Linked DNA regions of Homo sapiens: all the other regions are linked to region 4. Evidence: promoter capture Hi-C in 16 types of primary human blood cells and fetal thymus (Javierre and others, 2016). All regions are on one chromosome and are shown on one strand. The core of a region is centred on a gene start or on the middle of the fragment in contact, and the rest is flanking DNA. Distances in the headings are between cores, read along the strand shown.

Region 1 (3,049 bases), core at 140-2,639, 210 kb before region 4:
CCACCAAGAGCTAAAGGCCACTTTAAACATCAGGGTATCAGGCCTGAGGCTGCCCTATCTCCAGACAGGGAAAACAGATACAGGAAGGACTCCTTCTTAGGTCTGTTCTCAGCCTTCCCCTGCAGATTCCCTGTCCTGTATGATACCCCTTTCCCTATTGTTATGGTTCTACTTTATGAAAAAGAAAAAAAAAAAATCCAAGGCCAAATACCTCCTGCAGGGTTCCAGTCATGCTAAATATTCTTAGTATACATGAAGCACCTGAGTAGGAGAAGGTGGTTGCCCAGGTTTATCTTTTTTAGGAATGCCAAGTAAACCAATTAAGAAAACCAACTAGCATATACCAACGACAGAAAATGTAAACCTGGAGCTATAAAATAAGTAATAGGCTGGGTGTGGTGGCTCACACCTGTAATCCCAGTGTTTTGGGAGGCTGAGGTGTGAGGATCGCTTGAGGTCAGGAGTTCAAGACCAGCCTGGGTTAAAAAAAATTTTAAATGCACAGTGTCATGAGGTGTGCCTACAGTCCCAGCTGCTCAAGAGGCTGAGGTAGGACGATTGCTTGAACTCAGGAGTTCGAGGCTGCAACGAGCTATGAATGTGCCAATGTGCTCCACCCTGGGTGACAGTAACCCTGTCTCAAAAAAAAAAAAAAAAAAAAAAAAAAGCTAATAGAGATAATTCCAATTTTATCCCATCATCTTAAAAAAAGCATCAGTGTAGTCAGTTTTAAAGCACTGTGATTAGTAATAATAAGTGCCTGAATTCCTTTGTTTAAATGAATACAAATAGTAAGGAAAATCTGATACCTCAAAGGAATAAGTCACCTAAGGAACTTGCATACACACTCTAAAAAAGAGGCTGGGCACAGTGGCTCACCCCTGTAATCCCTGAACTTTGGGAGGTCAAGGCGGGCAGATCACTTGGGCTCAGGAGTTCGAGACCAGCCTGGGCAACATGGCGAAACCCTATCTTTATAAAAAATACAAAAATTAGCCAGGCATGGTGATGCGTGCCTGTAGTCCCAGCACCTCGGGGGGCTGAGGCAGGAGGATCGCCTGAGCCTCGGAGGCAGAGGTTGCAGTGAGCAGAGATCGCGCCACTGCCCTCCAGCCTGGGCAACAAAGCGAGATTCCGTCTCAATAAATAAATAAAAAAGAGGCCTACCGATGTACTTCCCATCCATAATGACTCTCCCTTTCCTGTTTTTCTCCTATATTCCTAACTTTCTGAACAGTTTCAGAAGGGCTGTGGAGGTGTATTAGTGAGGTCCAGAACTCTGTGCCTAAACATTCCAGAGTCCATGTGCCGACCTCACAAACTCACTCATAACCAGCTGCAGACTTGTTCTCCCCATCCTATTAGAGGGCTGATGACCTTGCCCTCTTATAGAAAACCAACATTGGCTTTCTCTGTCCTTCTTCCTCCATATGTCCAACAACATCCCACTTCCCAATCCATTCTCTTTTTTGGAAAGAGAGTCTCACTCTGTTGCCCAGGCTGGAGTGCAGTGGCATGACCACAGGCTCACTGCGGCCTCAACTCCCAGCTCAGGCAATCCTCCTGCCTCAGCCTCCCAAGTAGCTGGGACCACAGGCATGGGACCCCTGGCTAATTTTTAAAAAATAATTGGGACTATGGCTAATTTTTATAATTTCTTAAAAATAGAGACAGAGTCTCACTGTGCTGTCCAGGCTGGTCTCAAACTCCTGGGCTCAAGCCATCCTGCTGTTTCAACCTCCCAAAGTGCTAGAATTCAGCCATTGTGCCTGGCCCCAGCTAATTTTTTCATCCTCTGTCATGATTTTCTGCTTATTCTCCTTCTTTGCCTTTAAATCCTCAAGACATTGACAATGATGCATCTAGTTATAGCCTGTGTAAGGGATATTCCCTGTTTGCCCCCACAGCCTCTCCTCACCCATCTCCACCCTACTCTATGCCCTAGAACGGACAATGGAAGGACAACTGACAGGCCCCACCACCCTTGCCTTCTGACCCAGTTTGGCTGGTAAGAGGCAGGAGAGGAGGAAAGTGAGAGGAACTTACTCTCCTGGCTCCCACCCCGAGGTTACTGAGGCTGGCTGAGACCCTCCACCAATGGCTGCAGCTCCATCGGGCAACCTCAACATATAGCCACTTTCTCCAAACTCCAGGAACCACTTCATCCTCTGCCCTTCAGGTCTAGAAGGCAGTAGGTAACAACTCCCTGCTACTGCTAGCACAGAAGACTTCACTTTCCTGTTGGCTTCCCCAAACCCTGCTCACCCTTTCCAGTCCCTTTATTAATCTTCTGCATTGTTGTCAACTCAGCATCGTGACCACCCTCCTTCCAAGCTCTCCTCTGCAGATCAGAAGCTGAGAACTTCCGTTCCAGAACCCTTTAGCAGCATGGTTCTGGGTTAGAGTTTGCAATGAGAAGTGCAAGAGAGATTTAGAAGGCAAAATAAACGTAGAGGTTGATGATATTCCCTGGAGGTAGATGCAGCACACGTGGATTCATAGCGGCTTCCCCATGAGCTCACGAGAACCATTCACTATGACACTTCAGTATGAAATCATCAGGAACCTTCCCAATTCCAGTTCTTCCAGGGTTGGGTAAAGCCTTAATTCCTGTATCAAAACCATTCATACCGGAATAGACAACTTCTCTTTTCCTGAATGAACCCTGAATGATACAATTAAACACTCCTTAAATTACCCAGTTTGAATGTGCCATCTGTTTTCTACTGGGACCCTGACTGATAAGAGTTCTTCTCATTCCTAGGATTTCAGAGTAGACTATTGCCACTTGGGGAATGAGAGACTTCTATTTCATGCACTATGACATAGAACAGGGACTAAAAATCCTCCCTCAACAAAACACTTAGAAATGTCAGACAAAATGTATAGCCAAGTTGCAAGAAAGTAAGAAATGCCCAAAGTCCAAAATTGGATGAGATACTATGAAGAGAGTTGCAGGCAGGTGCTGGGCTCTGAATGCCAAGGATGTGGGGTCTATAGGGCTTATTAACCATATGGCAAAGGGTTTTTTTTTTTTTTTTTGAGACGG
Region 2 (2,942 bases), core at 287-2,786, 190 kb before region 4:
ATAAAAGAATTATATTTAGTATGTTCTAGGAAATAAAAGCGAAGTTTGAAAAATTTAGCAGGGAACAGGAATCCATAAAAAACAATGTAGCAGACTTGAAAAGAATCACAACTGAAAAATACAGTAAGATATTGGTAAGAACTATCCATTGAGTTATTAAATTAAAAGCAGATTAATCGGCTGGCGCGGTGGCTCATACTTGTAATTCCAGCACTTTGGGAGGCTGGGGCAGGTGGCTCACTTGAGGCCAGGAGTTGAAGACCAGCTTGGCCATCATGGTGAAACTCCATCTCTACTAAAAGTACAAAAATTGGCCAGGTGTAGGGGCACACACCTGTGGTCCCAGCTACTCGAGAGGTTAAGGCACAAGAACTGCTTGAACCCAGGAGGCAGAGGGTGCAGTGAGAGCCAAGATCGTGCCACTGCACTGCACCCCAGCCTGGGCGAAAGAGTGAGACTCTTGTCTCAAAAAAACGCAGATTAGTCAAAGAGAAGACTGATTAACTGAAAACAGGTCAAAGTAATCTACCCAGAATGAAAAATAGAAAAGAAAAAAAACACTTGTAATGGATGCCATTTAATCCCAGCACTTTAGGAGGCTTAGGCGGGCAGATCAGGAAGTCAGGAGATCGAGACCATCCTGGCTAACACAGTGAAACCCCGTGTCTACTAAAAATACAAAAAATTAGCCAGGCGTGGTAATAAGTGCCTGTAAGTCCCAGCTACTCGGGAGGCCGAGGCAGAAGAATCACTTGAACCCAGGAGGCGGAGGTTGCAGTGAGCCGAAATCGCACCACCGCACTCCAGCCTGGGCGACAGAGCGAGACTTCGCCTCAAAAAAAAAAAAAAAAAAAAAAAAACAGAAAAGAAAGGGTGACTACAAGGTTGAATGTATCCCTGTATGGGTGGACTCTTAGAATGAGAAGGGAATGGAGGCAAGGCAGTAAGTGAGGAGAAGTATTGGGAATTTTCCAGAACAAATAAGAGATATCACCAAAGAATCAAGAATCTTGGTGAATACAAAACAGATGGTCTCTATTATCTAGAATGTCTTCCAAAAATAACATGAACCTGTTCTGTAAGTATAGTACCACCACAATTAAATATCTATTGTGGTCATATTAGGGGTTATCATAGGGTATACTATATAGACGAACTTACAACACTCTCAGCACGTGAGGAGCTCAAAGTCAAGGATTTAGAAGAGGTATTTTCAACTGTGAAGATCTCTCTACCCGGCCAGGCGAGGTGGCTCACACCTATAATCCCAGCACTTTGGGAGGCTGAGGCACGCGGATCACCTGAGGTCAGGAGTTCAAGACCAGCCTGGCCAACATGGTGAAACCCCATCTCTACTAAAAATACAAAACTTGGCCAAGGGTGGTGGTGGGCACCTGTAATCCCAGCTACACGGGAGACTGAGGCAGGAGAATCACTTGAACCCAGGAGGCAGAGGTTGCAGTGAGTGGAGATCGCACCACTGCACTTCAGCTTGGGTGACAGAGCAAGACTCTGTCTCAAAAAAAGAAAAAAGACATGCAGGAACCTTAAATGATTATTGCTAAGTGAAAGACATGAATCTGAAGTGGCTACATGACTTTAGCTATATAATATTCTGGAAAACACCAAACTGTAAAGTCAGTAGGAAGATCAATGATTACCAAGGATCCAAGGGAAGAGGGGGAAGGATGAATACGGAGAGAGTACAGGTGACTCCTGGGATAGTGAAACAATTCTGTATAATACTGTATTAGCAGATGTAAGACATTATGCATTTGTCCAAACCCACAGAATATACAACAAAGAATGAACTCAAGTCAGTTGCTGTGGCTAGCACCTGTAATCTCACCTGAATCCAGCAGCTCAAGGTTACTGCGAGCTATGATTGTACCACTGCACTGGCTGGCAGAGCAAGACACTGTCTCAAAAAAAAAAAAAAAAAAAAAAAAAAAAAGTCAGGCATGATGGCTCACGCCTGTAATCCCAGCACTTTGGGAGGCTGAGGTGGACTGATCACTTGACGTCAGAAATTTGAGACCAGCCTGGCCAACACGGTGAAACCCTGTCTCTACTAAAAATATAAAAATTAGCAGGCATGGTGGTGGGTGCCTGTAATCCCAGCTACTCAGAAGGCTGAGGCAGGAGAATCGCTTGAACCCTGGAGGTGGAGGTTGCAGTGAGCTGAGATCACACCACTGCACTCCAGCCTGGGCAACAGAGCAAGACTCCCTCTCAAAAACAAACAAAAAAAGGTCAAATATGAACTGGACTTGAGTTAATAATAAAATATCAATACTGTATATCAAGTGTAGCAAATGCACCACACTAATATGAGATATTAGTAATAGTGGAACCTATGGTTGGATTGAGGGAGGGTAAACAGGAACTCTCTTATTGCTCATTTTTTCTGTAAACCTAAAACTGCTCTAAGCAATAAAGTCTACTAACATTTCTCTTAAAAAGTTAATGTATCAGGAAAAATGAACCACAATGACACAGCACTTCATACCCATAGGTATGGCTATAGGAAAGAAAACAAAAAATTACAAGTGTTGGTGATGATGTGGAGAGACTGGAACCCTCACATATTGCTGGTGGGGGCCAGGCACACTGGATCACTTGAAGCCAGGAGTTAGGAGACCAGCCTGGCCAACCATGGTGAGACCCTGTCTATAAAAATACAAAAATTAGACAGGTATGGTGGCACATACCTGTAATCCCAGCTATTTGGGAGGCTGAAGCAAGAGAATCACTCGAGCCCAGTGAGTGAAGCCTGTAGTGATCCACGATCATGCCACTGCCCTCCAGCCTGGGCCACACATGGGAATATAAAATATTCAGCCACTGTGAAAAAGTCTGGTGGTTCTTCAAAAAGTTGAATACAGAATTACACGATCCAGCAACTCCATTCCTAGGTATATACTCAAAATAAGTGAAAACAG
Region 3 (2,923 bases), core at 104-2,603, 250 kb before region 4:
AAAGTGGCCCAGATACAGAGCTTGAACCTTTCACCAGACTTTGTCACTGTCTCAGAGGCAGGGCTCGCTGACTTGAGGTAGCAAACTGCAAGGACTGAGTCAACTAGCGTTGTTTAATCCTTATCTGAGGGAAGCTTTAAGGGAGCCTTCTCCAAGCCTGATGCCTGCTCATTCACAGAAAGGCTCTTTCTTATGAGATATAACAGCAACCTGAATCATCATCCTGTTTAATTAGCATCTCAGAGCAGCCTCAGAACACCAAAGCAACTGGGTCACAGTAGTATTATAGCACACTGATGACAACTGGTTTTGTTCAAGCCTTGCAGATTACCCTCCACTACTGTGCCTAAGACGGCTCTTATCCAGCATGGCACACACTTCTGCTCATGCTCACAATATTTACTTACTCATGTTTGTCCATCTCCCCTAAACTGTGAGACTTGTTCTTGCACCCCCCAAGGACTGGCACACCATAGGCACTGTAAATGTGGGCTGATGGAATGAATGCAATGTCTGACAAACTTGAGAGCCTGAAGACAACTAATGAGGATACTCTTCAATGAGTTACAAAACTGATGCTGGTGGAGCTTGGAGAATGTGGAACAAGGTATGTGTTCATTTTTGGCCACCAGCAAAAAGTTTTTTGTCCTTTTAATTATGCCTCCTACATCTAGGATGGAAGCCGCTGTCCTCCCAGCTATCAATGCCAACTACGTGGCAGCTAGATGGGCTACATACAAGGAGCTACCCTTCAAGGCCCTGTGAGCATTTCTTTGATGCAACTCTGCATCCTATCAAGCTTCTTAAAGACTACTTCAAAGTGTTAGCCAAAGCAATACATACATAGCCCTAGGTGTTTTGGTCCTTACTTCCTTAGAGCTAGACGATCTCCTTACGTTTCTTCATGAAAAGCTCATGAGACTGGCTGGAGAACCTTTAACTTGCCATTAACACAAAGACTGAGGGAATGGGCTCTGGCACCAGCCTCTGGGACCTGCACCACGGCCCAGTACCACCAAGGCTTCCCAGTCAACCTCAGAGGGACAGAGACTTGTCCAGTTCTTCTCAGGTCCATTTACTCAGTGCTACTCAAGTTATGGTACATGGATTTAGAATCTGCACTTATGTCCTACAGCTGCTCCGGCAAAAGTGCCAGTTTCAGAAACTGAATCCATTAAATACACACTTAATCAATTATGATGTCAGTATGAAACATCAGCCAGCCACTCACTGGCTAAGGGCTAATTGTGTGTACTTAAGACAAAAGTTCCAGGCTTGACTAGCTTTTTAGAATAAATGTGGTTGGTCTAATGTGCATACTGTCCAGGTATGATGCAGCACAGGGCTACTGGAGAAAAAAACTGAGGGTGTCAGCACACGTGTGAAAGCCAAAAGTCACCAGGTCAATTTTATCATCTGTAAAATGGGGATAACAGTATTTGCTTTGCCTTCTGCCTAAAGCTGCTGTGTAAAATAACCATAAAAGTGTTTTACAAACTAGAAAGTTATGTAATTATTAGAACTTTTAAATAAAAATTACATAAAACATACATTCATCTCTGTCATACTTTGGCAATTACTGATATCAAAATCAGATATAATACAAAGTACAGTCTATTAAATTAAGACAAACAGTTTAAAGTTAATTTTTTGTTAAGTAATTTCTCTCCTACAATCTGCCTTAAACAAGCAGACCCTGCATGGGTCTGGACACCTGCTGCTGGTCGTTTTTTTGGTAAGTCTAGCTGCTGTATGTTTCAGTAATGTTTCATCTCCGACGGTGTGGAAGGTCAGTTCTTGGCCAAGTCTCTGGACACTTCACTTCTTAGCTACTATTTACTATTACTTTCATTGTATCTCCCCTCTCAATTCTCCTATCTGGGACCAATACAAACTAAAACTATTTTTAAAGCTTTCTAAAGCATTTTGCATTACAAGAAAAGATGTTAAATAAATGGGGACTAATAATGACACACAACTGCATACAAATTAAATTCTAGCAGGATTTCGAAAGCATTGAAAACTGCCCCAAAATGGCATATTGAGCACAACTAGAATGAGAAAAACCGCCTCACAGGCTTGCCTGTTGTACTCTACAGACAGTGCCCTCTGTTATGTGGAGAGCAGACCTGGAAACCAATGACTCCTTTGCTGCCTGCATCAGAGTCACCTGCCAGGTGCTCCTAGCCATACTTCTCCAAACCTGTCCCTACTCACATTAATCTAGAATAATCTGCTGTGGCTGATTCTGGACCCTCTGCTGCCATGTGGATCTTAGGTCCAACAGATGGTACTATTCCTTACAACACACTTAGGGCCCAATAGTTCATCTTCTCTGCCTCCTGGGACCCAGTCATCTGCTTCCCTCCAATACAAGCCCATGAAAACACTCACACAAACTTTCTTTAATCTGATCATCTTTCAAGCATAATTTGAAATAAAATTATATATTTAGATCACCATTCTCCTCCCATAAAAGCCCCAATCAAAACATGGCTCTGCTACAGATCCTGACAAGTATTTGTTTCTTTGGGAAAACCTTTCAAGTCAAATTATAAACCTGTAATAAGTGTCTCTGTGGCTGAGTGGTGGTTGGGTGGTAGCTGGCCCCAGAAGTGGTACAAAACGCACAGAAAGCCTGACCCAGGTCCAAATCTCTTGAGTGTGGCCGTTTTGGCGGCATCTAACAGCTACATCCTTGGATTCTGTTTTGATCCACAAAGAAAGCCCGTTCCCTTATTTCCCTTCCGATGTCTTTGTGCCCATAAGGTGGGACCAGCCTGTCTGCAGTTTATAGTAAAGTTATGATGTTTTCCATCAGGTTAGAAAGGTTGGGATTAAAGGACTTTTCTCCTTCATTAAGAATGTCCTTCTTTGTCTTTCTGTACTTCATCTACCAAACAGAGGATGTCAGAAATTAGCC
Region 4 (3,101 bases), core at 340-2,839:
TTGGGGAGGAGGAACCACACAAAGGGAAAGGATGGGAATTGGGGGGAAATTAAATTAAAAATGACTGTAGTTGAGACACATTGACACTAACAGGCTGCATTTCCGGGGTCTGGCCGTGTTTGCACCAACTGTCTGGGGTGTGGGGCGAGGCGTGCACAGGATTAAAGGAGATGGTGTCCTAGGGCTCTGGGCTGCAGCCTGGGGAGGTACACACAGGTCAGCCTTTGCCTCCCCAGGGTAAGTTTCCGGTGAAGAACATTCTTTACAAGTAAGAGGATCCTCTGAGCCTACTGGCCGAGGGGCCCAGCTTGGGGCTGAGGCTGGCCTGGGGCTGAGGCTGGCCTCTACTTACCGGCTAGGTCTTGAGCAAACGAACTGGCTTCCCTGGGCCTCCTTTTCCCTGTCCTTAAAATGGTGCAGGTGAGGACAATAGGAGCCCCAAGGGGTGCTGTGAGGGTGGCCAGTACGTGCCCTGCTAAGGGCTCCATAAAGCCTAATTTGTGGTCATGAGAGGGGGTGCAGCAGGACAGGGTGGGGGCAGCTCTTGAAAGCCCCATAAACTAAGAGAATAGAAAGGAAGGCACCCTGTCTCCACAGTGGAGGCCACCCCTTTGGCCAGAGGGAGGGTTGGCTGCTGCCCGGCCAAGGAGGGGCAGAGAGAATCTGGCAGAATTCACTGAGCCCTCGTGCTGGCAGCCCTGGAATGGGACCCTCCTGGGCCGTCCCTGGCCTGATGAACTGGCCCTGAGGCTACCTACCCCACAGCTTGGCTCGGATCCCGGCCACCCAGCTTCCAAGAAAGCCTGGAACCAGGAAAGGAGCGCCGCTGGCGTGGAAAGACACACTTGCATCCTAAAACACTTGGCCTCTGGTTGTGTTTCAGGAACTGGGAGGTGAGACCCTTTCTGGTGACTGACAGTTTTGTGCCTCTGGGCGCAGAGCCCTGTGGCTGGCCCTGGTATCCCCCCCTCCCCCCTCTCCCCGCTCTCCCTGGCCAATGCCAGCAACAACCCAGAGGGTAGCCCCACCACTTGCCAGGTTCAACGCAGTGTCCCCCGCAGCAGCCACGTGAGGTTCCTCGGATGGGGAGCTGTCCCTCCCCCCTGCCCCGCCCCTGGCCCCAGCCACACAGCGCCCACCCTCCTTGTTTAAGGGCCAGGAGGCCAGACTGCTGGGGCAAAGCTGTCACAGCAGCGAGGGAGAGAGCGCTGTCCCCCTCCCCTTCAAAAGCCACCTTGGCAAGGCATTAGCTAAACATCTTCTCGGTCCCAGAAGGCTTCCCCTGTGAAGTCTGCAGCGTTCAAACGACAACCAGCAAATCCCCAGAGACAGGTCCCTGGGAATTAGCTGCGCCGGGCGGGATGAAAGCCGCTCTGATGTTCTGGAGCGAGAGAGTAGAGAGAAGGAGGAAGACAGACACTACCTGCCAGTCGCAGGGTCCCGGGCAGCAGCAGCACGCCAAGGAGGAGCCAGGGGGCTGCGGGGAGCCCAGGAGGGCGTGGGAGGCCTGGCAGGGCCCGCCACCTCACAGGCTGGTTCTCCATCTGGGGGCCTGCTTGTCTGCGGCGACTCTTTAGTTCACAGGAGGGGACGGCCGGCGCTGACAGCTTCCCCTTTGCTTTCCCCACGAAGCTCCTCCCTGGCAGCCCCTGACCTTCCGCTCAGAAGCAAAGCTGGAACAGCCCAGCAGGGTGGCCGCCAGATGAGGAACCTGGCACTGAGACTGGTCCAGGCCACACAACCAGAAGAAGAGCTGGAGACGGGACCCAAGCCTCCCCACTCCAACCCCTGGTGGGCTTCACCCTGTCTCGGCCCCTTTCCAGCAGGGGCCCCGTCCAGGAGACACTGGTAACTGTGCAGAGGGATCATGGGATTTCCATGAGTGACTTCGGGCCTTGGTTTAGCCTCTCACTTCTGAAACACTTTTAAAACGACCACAAGCATGTTCACACAAACTTCTCTAAAATATTCTGAGAATCCCTTAATAATGTGTTTACCAAAGGTAGGTTTTTTGGTGAGGGGTGGTAGGGAGGCTGGGGTGAAGGGCAGGAGCCTCATGTTCCCAGCCCTAGAGAGGGCCAAACACCCAGGGCAGGTGAAAGGCAGGCTGCCCATCATTCACCCAGCGAGAACCTCTGTGGGTCCCCTGCAGAGGCCCAGGAGACGCCTCCTCTCTGGTCCATCTCTAACGTCAGCTCCTCCCTGTGGCTGCCCTAAAGCTTAGCTCACTCGGCCTCCCAACTGTGAGACCCTCGAACTGCTTCCCCATTGGCTGCAGGTCACAGCCCCTGCTCTCACTTCTAGCAGCATCAGCCGGGGACAGGAATTGTTTGCTGCCGGGACCCCCTTCCCCAGCAGACTGGGAGCCCCTCACCCTTGGCACCCACACATCTGCCTGCGTGTCTGGAGTGGCAGAGGAAAGGGGCTGGGGTGTGGTGATGGCTGGTGGAGCTGGAGGCACCTGGTACATGGAAGACGCAGGCGGGAAGGTGGCTGAGTTTCAGCGCATGCTGAGCGCTTACCTCCCTTCTCTGCAGGTGTCCCTTCACTCACCAGATAAATGTGATGATCCCAGTTGTACAAAAGAGAAGACCTCGGCCCCAGGAGGCAAAACAACATGCCTAGGATCAGGGCAGGTCTGTGGGGCGGGCATTTGAACTGCCAGTGGTATGATGTCCGAGCCTTCTCCCACCCTGCTACTGCCTGCTCAGGTGTGTCCAGCTGCAGCCCCCGGTGACGGCATCATGAGATCCATTTCAGTTCTTTGCACACATGCTTTTCCCTGGGCTGCTCCAAACATGAACAGTGAAAGCCTAAAGACGTTTCCACCAATGCCACGAGCACTGGGAGGCTGGCAAGAGCAGGGGCCGCCCACCAGGGGAGGAAGACATATGAACAGGAGAAGTTTCCTACCGCGCAGGGGGCAGGCGGGGACCCCAGTGTTATTGACTGTTGATCCATCACAGTGATACATGCTCACATATGTCACAGTGAGATGCAGACCCGCTGCTTCACGCTATTCCTGGCTCCTGGGAGTAGCAGGTTGTCTAAGCACCTTGATGCCATGGTGATAGACCTCGTGTCAATGCCTCAGGGTACAC

Evidence for each region. The method cuts DNA at HindIII sites, captures the fragments that hold promoters and counts their contacts. A CHiCAGO score of 5 or more calls a contact.
Region 1: a contact is called between a fragment that was not itself captured here and the fragment with the promoter of NFAM1 in region 4, in 14 of 17 cell types (naive CD8 T cells, naive B cells, total CD8 T cells and 11 more). The highest score is 12.9, in naive CD8 T cells.
Region 2: a contact is called between a fragment that was not itself captured here and the fragment with the promoter of NFAM1 in region 4, in 6 of 17 cell types (naive CD8 T cells, naive B cells, non-activated CD4 T cells and 3 more). The highest score is 7.0, in naive CD8 T cells.
Region 3: a fragment that was not itself captured here is called in contact with the fragment with the promoter of NFAM1 in region 4 in 13 of 17 cell types (naive CD4 T cells, total CD8 T cells, naive CD8 T cells and 10 more); the score reaches 11.6 in naive CD4 T cells.

Annotation. Positions count from the first base shown.
Region 1 is chr22:42,218,715-42,221,763 of GRCh38, forward strand. The region is part of intron 1 of TCF20 (transcription factor 20); the gene reads right to left. Among named protein-coding and RNA genes, the nearest start is that of TCF20, 50 kb to the right of the region's middle. The HindIII fragment of the contact is 4,351 bases long and covers 1-3,049 here.
Region 2 is chr22:42,241,368-42,244,309 of GRCh38, forward strand. The region is part of intron 1 of TCF20 (transcription factor 20); the gene reads right to left. Among named protein-coding and RNA genes, the nearest start is that of TCF20, 28 kb to the right of the region's middle. The HindIII fragment of the contact is 5,614 bases long and covers 1-2,942 here.
Region 3 is chr22:42,184,890-42,187,812 of GRCh38, forward strand. All of the region lies in intron 2 of TCF20 (transcription factor 20), which reads right to left. Among named protein-coding and RNA genes, the nearest start is that of CYP2D6, 56 kb to the left of the region's middle. The HindIII fragment of the contact is 1,113 bases long and covers 798-1,910 here.
Region 4 is chr22:42,430,814-42,433,914 of GRCh38, forward strand. It overlaps NFAM1 (NFAT activating protein with ITAM motif 1), which reads right to left and starts at 1,590. Exons shown (of 6, transcript NM_145912.8): 1 at 1,424-1,590. The coding sequence starts at 1,544. The HindIII fragment of the contact is 8,354 bases long and covers 1-2,217 here.